Regions from separate parts of the Homo sapiens genome. Here all the other regions are linked to region 1. Evidence: promoter capture Hi-C in 16 types of primary human blood cells and fetal thymus (Javierre and others, 2016). All regions are on one chromosome and are shown on one strand. Each heading gives the region's core, a stretch centred on a gene start or on the middle of the fragment in contact. The rest is flanking DNA. Distances are from core to core; before and after follow the strand shown.

Region 1 (3,148 bases), core at 263-2,762:
TTTGCAAGGAGGCAGGGGGGCTTACTTAGGGAAGACTTCCTTTCTCCCATAGATTTAACTCCTTTATAAGTATAATTCATTTGTTGTGTGCATATATGACTATATTTGGAAAGAAGTAGTATTTATGGTGCTGAAGAGATATTCAGCATCATATCAAGATGATCAAGAAATATCAAGTTATGCCAAACACTGGGGCCACTCCCTACACTGAAATGTTTCCAAATTCTGTGATAAAAATCAAAGGCTCAAAAGTCAAGAAACAGATCCACTGTTTCTGCAATGTGTTTTGTGAACTCTATTTGTGCCCTGTGGGCCAGTCTCAGTGATGGATTTTCTTATCTATGAAATGGGACCAATGACCTCAACTCAGATTTACTTGGGTGTTCTCAGGCATGCATCAAAGGCATACTGCTGAAATTCTTAGCACATAAATACCACTATGTAATAGTGAGTCTGTAAAATAGTTATGAATAGGCAATAATGGAATAGTTAATAAATATGAGTATTGCAATATTCTTTTTATATGATTGTCTTTTAAGTCATCAAATTTCTGAACATCTTCTGAAACTGAAGGAATAGAAAAGGGAATTTAAATAGTATAAAATGCTATCATAATAATATGGTAACTGCGGGCATATCTATAGACATTCATACTGCCACGGTTAGTGGCATAAATTCTTATCTTTTGCTTAAGGAATAAATACATTTTTTCCTACAGTAGTGAATGCAGGACAGATTTCACCAGAATGAAATTGGATGGCATCAAGTCTATTTAATGTAACACTTTGTTAAACAGAATATTTTCCCCAAACCCAAAGCACCTAAAAGTTTAATTCAGGAGACTTTGGAAATGAGAGGAGGATTAAGAATGAAAAATACTTTAGTGGGAAGTGAACTTTTTAAAATTATTTTTAAAGAATCAAGGCCCCAACTTCTTCAGCACTTCAGGCAACGGATCACAGGTTTTTGTTTTATTGGAGAAGAAACAAAGTAAATAACAGTTCTGAGGATGAACAAAAGCTGTTGGGAATACCCATTTCACTCCTCAAAGTGGGGGCGCGTTTTATGAATAATTTCAGCCGGCTAACATACCTTCCTGCAAAACACAGACAAGATGTAAATTAAAAAGTGGCAGAGTTGTGGCATATTGCAAAAGTTTAAAGGGAGTCATCAGTCCTTCAGTCAGATCTCCCTGCAGAAAGGTTGGCGCTGAGGTTGGAACTGACCCTAGAGGGCTGGAGAGGACCCCTTGGGGGTGAGCAGCCGGGTTCTGGGACCCAGCAAGGTCAGGGGGCGTCTCCCCAGCTACTCTTTATCTATCCCCCGCACTCTGGAAAGCCCGAAGAGGATTCGCTCCAAGTTAGGCGCGCTGTTGGCTGTCAACGTTCTTTAGGACCTCAGGGAAACCGGGACGTTTCTGGCTTTAGGACCCAGGAACTCCGAGGCAGCCTAGACTTAGATGCCTTGGACCACAGCACCACCTACTTATAGAAGCATCCCAAGCCTCAGCCGGTCTGCATCTCCATCGGAAAGTGCGCTTGCCACATCCCTTCGGATCACTTCGTCCTCCCGAGAGCGTTCTGCCTTCTACAGCTCGGAAAGAAAGAAATCTTAGCTGTGAAGTGACCGTGGAGAAAGCGCAGGAAGCGACACAATTGGTTAGGGAGGCAGAGAGTGTGAGCGGGCGCACCCCTTGCCTGGGGACCGCGCTCGCGGGCGGGGACGGAGCATCCCAGTGGCTGCACCCGCCGCTCCGCGCTCCTGCCTGGCGTCGCCAACCCCGCGGCGGCCGCTGGAATTCCAGAGCTGCCAGGCGCTCCCAGCCGGTCTCGGCAAACTTTTCCCCAGCCCACGTGCTAACCAAGCGGCTCGCTTCCCGAGCCCGGGATGGAGCACCGCGCCTAGGGAGGCCGCGCCGCCCGAGACGTGCGCACGGTAGGCAACCCACACCAAGGCAGCCGCAGCTGCGGCGCTTGGGTACACCGCCGTGGACTCCAAATGGCCTAAGAGCGTTCTTTTAGCCCTGCGCTCTCAGTGCCTTTAGAGTTCTTTCCTTTCCCCGGAGCGCCGGCACAACGCATTATGCCGCTGGGTCGGAGCTTAGGGCTCGGCAGAGGTTGCTAATTCACTGATTATAATCACCTTCCTCTCCAACTCGTCCGCAGCTGCCCGCTCTGGATTAAGCCGCTCCGCGGCTCGTGCTAGGCAGTGGGTTCGCTTCCTCCTTCCCTCTCTTCTTTAAATTGGGACGTGCGAAGGCGCAGCTGCCTCCCCGGGGCTCTCTCCATCCCCCACACACCCTGTTTTCGCTTCTTGTCTCTCAGGTTCGTGGCGGAGAGATGCTGATCGCGCTGAACTGACCGGTGCGGCCCGGGGGTGAGTGGCGAGTCTCCCTCTGAGTCCTCCCCAGCAGCGCGGCCGGCGCCGGCTCTTTGGGCGAACCCTCCAGTTCCTAGACTTTGAGAGGCGTCTCTCCCCCGCCCGACCGCCCAGATGCAGTTTCGCCTTTTCTCCTTTGCCCTCATCATTCTGAACTGCATGGATTACAGCCACTGCCAAGGCAACCGATGGAGACGCAGTAAGCGAGGTGGGTCCCTCTCTGCCAAAGGTGCGTGGTGGGCTTCAGGGGTGGCGTGTGGAGGCGCTCACTCACGCCCTGGCTCCGGGGGCTCAGATGGTCAGGGCTGTGCTCTCCACCCCAGCTTTTGCGGGTCCCCAGTCCCCACCTTTAGGACCCTGGAGCTCTACAAAACACTCTGTTTTCTGTACCCTGGAGGCGCGGGGAGCCGGAGCGAGACGCGCTGGGAGCTCGGCGAGCCGGGCGCCAATCGGGCGCTCAGGGCTAAGTCGTGCGGTCCGCACTCATGTTCGCCGCCCCACCTCCTCATCTAAACTTGTCTCTTTAGGACGTATTTCTTATCTGACATGCATTTTTTTTTTGTCGTCGTTGTTCTTCTCTCTGTCCTCCTAACCATCTTCCCTGTAGCTCATTTGTTTTATCTTCCCCATCCACGTGCGCCCCAAACCCGGCCTCAGATCTCTTCGGACTTGACCTAGCATAGTGTGTGTGTGGTGTGTGGGTGTACCCAAGCGTGTGTCTGTATTCCGGAGCTTGGGAGGGGTACCAAGTCGAGGGGGAGGACCTCCC
Region 2 (3,148 bases), core at 389-2,888, 410 kb before region 1:
GAAAAATCAAACTTTATTATTATTTCTAATCAATGACTGTTAAAACTTTGAATTGAAAATTTGTCCACTGACATTTGAGGTTTGTTAATAGAAAAAATTAAGTACAAACTCATGGCCGGGCATGGTGGCTCACCCCTGTAATCCCAGCACTCTGGGAGGCTGAGGCAAGCAGATTACCTGAGGTCAGGTGTTTGAGACCAGCCTGGCCAACATGGTGAAACCCCCTCTCTACTAAAAATTTAAAAATTAGCCAGGTGTGGTAGTGCATGCCTGTAACCCCAGCTACTACTTGGGAGGCTGAGGTGGGAGAATCACCTGAACCTGGGAGGCGGAGGTTGCAGTGAGCCCAGATCGTGCCACTGTACTCCAGCTTGGGCGACAGAGCAAGACTCAAAAAAAAAGAAAAAAAAAAAGATAAAAAGAAAAAATTAAGTACAAATTCAAAGCCATTAAACAAAATTAGGCCATAATTTAAGCCACAAAATACCTCATTATGAGTCTTTTTAGACTAGTAAATATTTCCTTGTGGGGAAATCTTTATTATTTAGAGAATAATAAAGTAAAACAATGAAATATTTAGCAGTATACACCCCAAATAAAAAGAATATTGTTTTAAACTATTTTTACATCTTTAACATTTGTATTTTCAGAAATTCCTTCTCTTTCTAGTATTTGAAAGACTGTGTTTGTGTAGGCATTGAAGTCCTTTCCAAATATATGTATTTCATTGCCCTTAATATTTGAGAACAATTCTGCATACATAAAAAGATAGCAACGTTAAATCTGCCAGGTGACCATCAGATTACTCTCCCCGGAGCCAGCTGATACCACAGGGCCTGTTTCTAAGTACAGCTCTGACTCCTGGGTACCACTTAAGAGGCAACCATTTGTTTGGTACCATGTCTATGTCCCAACTGCTATTACTCTTCTTAAATCATCGTATCAGTGGTGCTATTTGAAGTTTGTTTTAGTAAGACATTCTTATACAGTCTTTCCCAATGCCTCTATTTGGAACTAACCAATTTTTATTCCTCTCATAAGAACTAGAGACATATTTATCTGTGCAGTTTGGTTTTGGTCAGAGTAGGTGGGCTATTAGAAAACTGCCAGCCAATGGGGCTGTGTTGTCTCCTATGTTCTCTGGCATACTATGTATGACAGATAGATCAGTATAGTGAAACTAAATCCAAAATCAGCTGTCATTTGAGTACAACTCTTGAAATCACTGGCTATTGTTACCACTCTGGAGACCTCCAATTTCATTTCAAACAGATATGATGTTGATAGTACACATTTTTACCTAGGGTTTTCAAAAGATGATATGCATACATTTTCACATAATTCTTACCCATGTTTTCATGTAATATTTAAGTTGCCTAATTATATCTCTCAAATTAGTTATGCACGAGCTCAGATTTCTTCAGTTATGAATCCATTCTGTTTGGAAATACTCACCATTACTTGGTCTATTGCAGGTAGATGTTTCCCCAGTAGTGACTTATTTGCAAGATTAATGTCTCCAAGTTTATTGCTGGTGGCAGCAGTTTGTTGAGCTGAAAACATTCTTCAGGGTTCTAATGATTTGAATACAAATCGTATTACTTGTGATGTTTACATATTATTATATGGAGTAGTAGAGATGTAATGACCCTATTGGAATTCACCTATTTATTTGTGGCTGCAAGTGGTTTATAGAAATATGCTTCTAATTTAACTTTTATTGGCATCCAAATCTAATTATTAATCAGTTTTTTATATTAAAAAACAATTTGTATAAAAGTCTTTACATTAAGACACATGTACACGTATGTTTATTGTGGCACTATTCACAATAGCAAAGACTTGGAACCAACCCAAATGTCCATCAGTGATAGACTGAAGAAAATGTAGCACATATACACCATGGAATACTATGCAGCCATAAAAAAAGATGAGTTCATGTCCTTTGTTGGGACATGGATGAAGCTGGAAACCATTATTCTGAGCAAACTATTGCAAGGACAGAAAACCAAACACCACAAGTTCTCACTCATAGGTGGGAACTGAACAATGAAAACACTTGGACACAGGGCGGGGAACATCACACACTAGGGCCTGTCATGGGGTGTGGGGGAGCAGGGAGGGATAGCATTAAGAGAAATACCTAATGTAAATGATGAGTTAATGGGTGCTGCACACCAACATGGCACATGTATACATATGTAACAAACCTGCACGTTGTGCACATGTACCCTAGTACTTAAAGTATAATTTAAAAAATAAGTAAATAAAAGTATTTACATTATTCTTGTCTTCTACTATGCTCACTATAATACAAAGTTCATACTTTCTGTATCCACTGTGGTTATTACAATTGGGTTCTTAAATAAATACAAATATGCATATATACATAGAGAGATGCATATATGAACATATGTGTATAAAGAAATAATTCTTTTTCTAAAGACCACAGGCCCAGCAGGGTGCAGTGCCTCACACCTGTAATCCCAGCACTTTGGGAGGCCGAGGCAGGTGGATCATGTGAGGTCAGGTGTTCAAAACCAGCCTGACCGACATGGTGAAACCCCATCTCTACTAAAAATACAAAAATTAGCTGGGTGTGGTGACGGGTGCCTGTAATCCCAGCTACTTAGGAGGCTGAGGCAGGAGAATCGCTTGAACCTGGGAGGCGGAGGTTGCAGTGAGGTGAGATCACACCACTTACACTCCAACCTGGGTGACAAAGCTAGACTCAGTCTCAACAACAACAACAAAACAAAACAAGCAAACAAACCACTGGCCCATATTCACTCCCTTAAGAATTATAAGTTTTTTTAAAAAGCTGTTGAAAGCAGTCAATATAAATCAAGTGAATTCACCTTGGCTTCTGAGAAAGAAAATAATAGTATAATTCTCTGTACTAATTTTAAAATTATTAAGAGAAAGATATTCAATATACAAAACAAACATGGGTAATTCAGTTCTTTACTATAGCATCTAGGGAGAATATTGTTGCTCCCCACCAAAAAAATAGAATAGGAGATGGGGGAAAACATATAAATCAGAAGAGGGGATAACTTAAAAAATGCCACACACAATCACAATGTAAGAAACAAAGTAACATGCAGATCTCCATGAAATCATTTGCTTCTTTCAATCATTGTTTTCA
Region 3 (3,148 bases), core at 264-2,763, 270 kb after region 1:
AACCATCACACCCATTTTTAAAGAAACATTCCTCTCATATCTTGGGGCTCATTTTGGCTCAAGCTAGAGCTTAGATAGAGCATCCTACTAGGTGTTCTGCTGAGAAATGAGTTCATTAGGCCAGTGTATTTAGTTCATTTTCACACTGCTATAAAGAACTGCCTGAGACTGGGTAATTTATAAAGAAAAGAGTTTTAATCGACACACAATTCTGCATGGCTTGGGAGGCCTCAGGAAACTCACAGTCATGGCAGAAGGGAAGCAGGCACCTTCTTCACAAGGCGGCAGGAAAAAGAAGAGCAAAGGAGGAAATTCCAAACACTTACAAAACCATCAGATCTTGTGAGAACTCACTCACTATCATGAGAACAGCATGGAGGAAACCACCCCCATGGTCCAATCACCTCCCTCCCTTACACGTAGGGATTACAGGTCCCTCCCTTACATGTGGAGATTAAAATTCAAGATGAGATTTGGGTGGGGACACAAGGCCTTATCATATCAGCCAGCAAATTGCTCTGCTTCCAAACAGCAACAACCACAACAAGGCTCAGTTCAGGCAAATATGCATCAGTGGCTACACAAGGATGTAGTAATGAAGGATCCTGAAAGGAAGTGAAGAATGATGGAGAAAGTGGCAAGAGATAATAATAATTAGAACACTGGTGGTTGACATTGAGAGATATTGTGAAGCAGTGGCTAGAACTGGGTTCTTGGAAGGAAGACAGGCAGGGACAGGAAGTGACAGGCAATAAGAAGTGGGCTAGGGAACAAAGCCTTGTAGTCAACTGAGTCTTAGTCTTAGGACTTCTAGACGTGAATTTGAGTGAATCAGTAAATGTTTTTTAAAAGTAACGCATGCAACTTAAGAACGACTACACTACACTACATCCCTTTATTCATGTAGTACAACTAAAGGTTTTCACTAACTCAAGCTTCCTCTGCTTCCATTCCAAGTCAGACTCTTAACTTGGTCTGCAGCCTACATTTCATGTCATACTTTGCCATCTAGTGGCTGGTCATAGTATAAGGCAAAAACTTAAACCCAAACATAGATTTCTATATACTTTGTTGAAAACCTGAGACATTCAACTTTGTAAAATGTAAGAGATTCTGTTTGTTTTCTTTATATGCTGTCTTACTCCAAAGAGAATACATGGTGGCTTAGCTTTGGGGTTGAAATTTCAGATTATGACAGAGCTAGGCAAGTTTAAGAGAGTAAAATAAAAAGAATTATAAATTTTCACTCATTATTTTTCTTAACATTTAAACATCACTTTCCTTGGTATTTCTCTTCCATATAGAGTTTATATAAACTGAAATCCAATAGGTTTTTCCAATCTAGTCATTCCGGTAGGTTTATTTTATTATTATGTGCTAAAACCAACCTAACTCTTATTTAATTATGTCAAATGGTGTAGATCATTTTCCCTATAATTTATCTAGCTTTTCTTTCTTCCTTTGTATTCCTCAGTGAAGGAGATATTACTTGACATTTTTGCATCATTAAAAACAATCTATGGTTCAACTTCCTGTTGCCTCATGTGAGACACGTCTGGTCATTATTGAGTTAGCTTACAATTTAAACAAAATATTCAGGAAACTTTTATTCTTTGTTCTACTCAGCATCAAGTCTCTTTAGGACTGCTTAGTGCAACATTTGTACTGCCAGGAACAAGTGAATGACAATTCACACTTAGCAGTCAGTATATGCTGATGGTCAAACAAATGAGGGGGAAGCCCTTGTGTTGAACGGTTTAAGCGATAATCTGAGAAGAACACAGTCTACTTCCAGACTACCTTTGGAGAAAATGGTGAATGCACAGGATTTAGTTTAGTAGTTAAGAGCGTGCCTTGGAGGGAATAGACAGATTTATATTCCAGTTCTTTTATTTTTACTTAAAAAAAAAATGAGGTCTTGTTTTGTTGCCCAGGCTGGTCTTGAGCTCCTGGGCTCAAGAGATCCTCCTACCTTGGCCTCCCAAAGTGGTGGAATTACAGGCATGAGCCACCACACCTGGCCTATATTCTAGTTCTGATACTTACTAGTTGTGTTGCCTTTTTTAAAGTGATTTAACCCCTTTAAGCTTCATTTCCTTTATCTGTCAAATAACAAAAAAATTGTACTTGCCTCATAAAAAACTTGGGAGGATTAAATAATTTACGCATAGCTTAGTCTTAGTACAGTGTCTTGCACACAGTAAACAATAAATAGGAGTTGTTATGATGATAGTTTTGCCTATGTTTTGCCATTAATTTCTAATCCTGCCTAAACAACCTTTTGTAATGTAAATTCTTGGCTTACTATCATGTATCTATGAGATTCTCCTTGGGAAGCCTCTACAATAAGCACTGTAGCCTGAAGAGTGATTAGCGTTTGATGGTCAAAGACATTTCATTCTAAACAAGAGAGGAAAAAGTTTCAAGAAAGACTAGAGTCCACAGTCATGCCCCCTGTTTATTCCAACACTGTAGGTCCTGGCTGTGCCAATGGGAATTGCCCATGGCAGCACAGTGTATGAGGGAGGGAGGAAATCTATGTTTAAATCCTCAAAATGTGTTCTCAGTACCAGTCCTTTGATTTGGATCAAGGACTCAAATGGGAAAAAGAGCCACCTGGTTTACAACAATAAAGAAGCTCCATTACAGACTTTGCAGGAGATGGGAGCAGGGCAGGGGCAGGAGATGAGAGTTTGAAACTAAATGAGCAACTGAAAGGCAGATTAGAACTTTTGTTCCACCATTTCCCAGCTAACTTAATTTGTGGCAAGTCACTGAGCACTGTGGAATCTGTTTCCTTCCTTTCTTTTCTTTTTTTCTTTTCTTTCTTTTTTTTTTTTTTTTGAAACAGGGTCTCGCTCTGTTGCCAAGGCTGGAGTGGGGTGGTGCCATCTCGGCTCACTGCAACCTCCGCCTCCCAGTTCAAGTGATGTTCCTGCATCAGCCTCCCAAGTAGCTGGGATTACAGGCAGCCACCACCAGGCCCGGCTACTTTTTGTATTTTTAGTAGAGATGGGGGTTTCACAATGTTGCCCAGGTTGGTCTCGAAGTCCTGACCTCAAGTGACCCACCCTCCTTGTCCTCCCAAAGTGCTGGGATTACAGGCATAAGCCACCGCCCCCAGCCTGGAATCTGTTTCTTTGACATT

Evidence for each region. The method cuts DNA at HindIII sites, captures the fragments that hold promoters and counts their contacts. A CHiCAGO score of 5 or more calls a contact.
Region 2: a fragment that was not itself captured here is called in contact with the fragment with the promoter of RSPO2 in region 1 in 3 of 17 cell types (M0 macrophages, megakaryocytes and M2 macrophages); the score reaches 6.6 in M0 macrophages.
Region 3: a contact is called between a fragment that was not itself captured here and the fragment with the promoter of RSPO2 in region 1, in 3 of 17 cell types (megakaryocytes, M1 macrophages and M2 macrophages). The highest score is 9.0, in megakaryocytes.

What each region holds. Positions count from the first base shown.
Region 1 is chr8:108,081,984-108,085,131 of GRCh38, reverse strand. It overlaps RSPO2 (R-spondin 2), which reads left to right and starts at 1,512. Exons shown (of 6, transcript NM_178565.5): 1 at 1,512-1,935; 2 at 2,325-2,587. The coding sequence starts at 2,494. RefSeq lists a silencer at 2,481-2,656 and an enhancer at 2,373-3,148. The HindIII fragment of the contact is 4,613 bases long and covers 2-3,148 here.
Region 2 is chr8:108,493,555-108,496,702 of GRCh38, reverse strand. No RefSeq gene overlaps it. Among named protein-coding and RNA genes, the nearest start is that of EMC2, 52 kb to the right of the region's middle. The HindIII fragment of the contact is 3,322 bases long and covers 1-3,148 here.
Region 3 is chr8:107,811,455-107,814,602 of GRCh38, reverse strand. No RefSeq gene overlaps it. Among named protein-coding and RNA genes, the nearest start is that of RSPO2, 270 kb to the left of the region's middle. The HindIII fragment of the contact is 1,152 bases long and covers 938-2,089 here.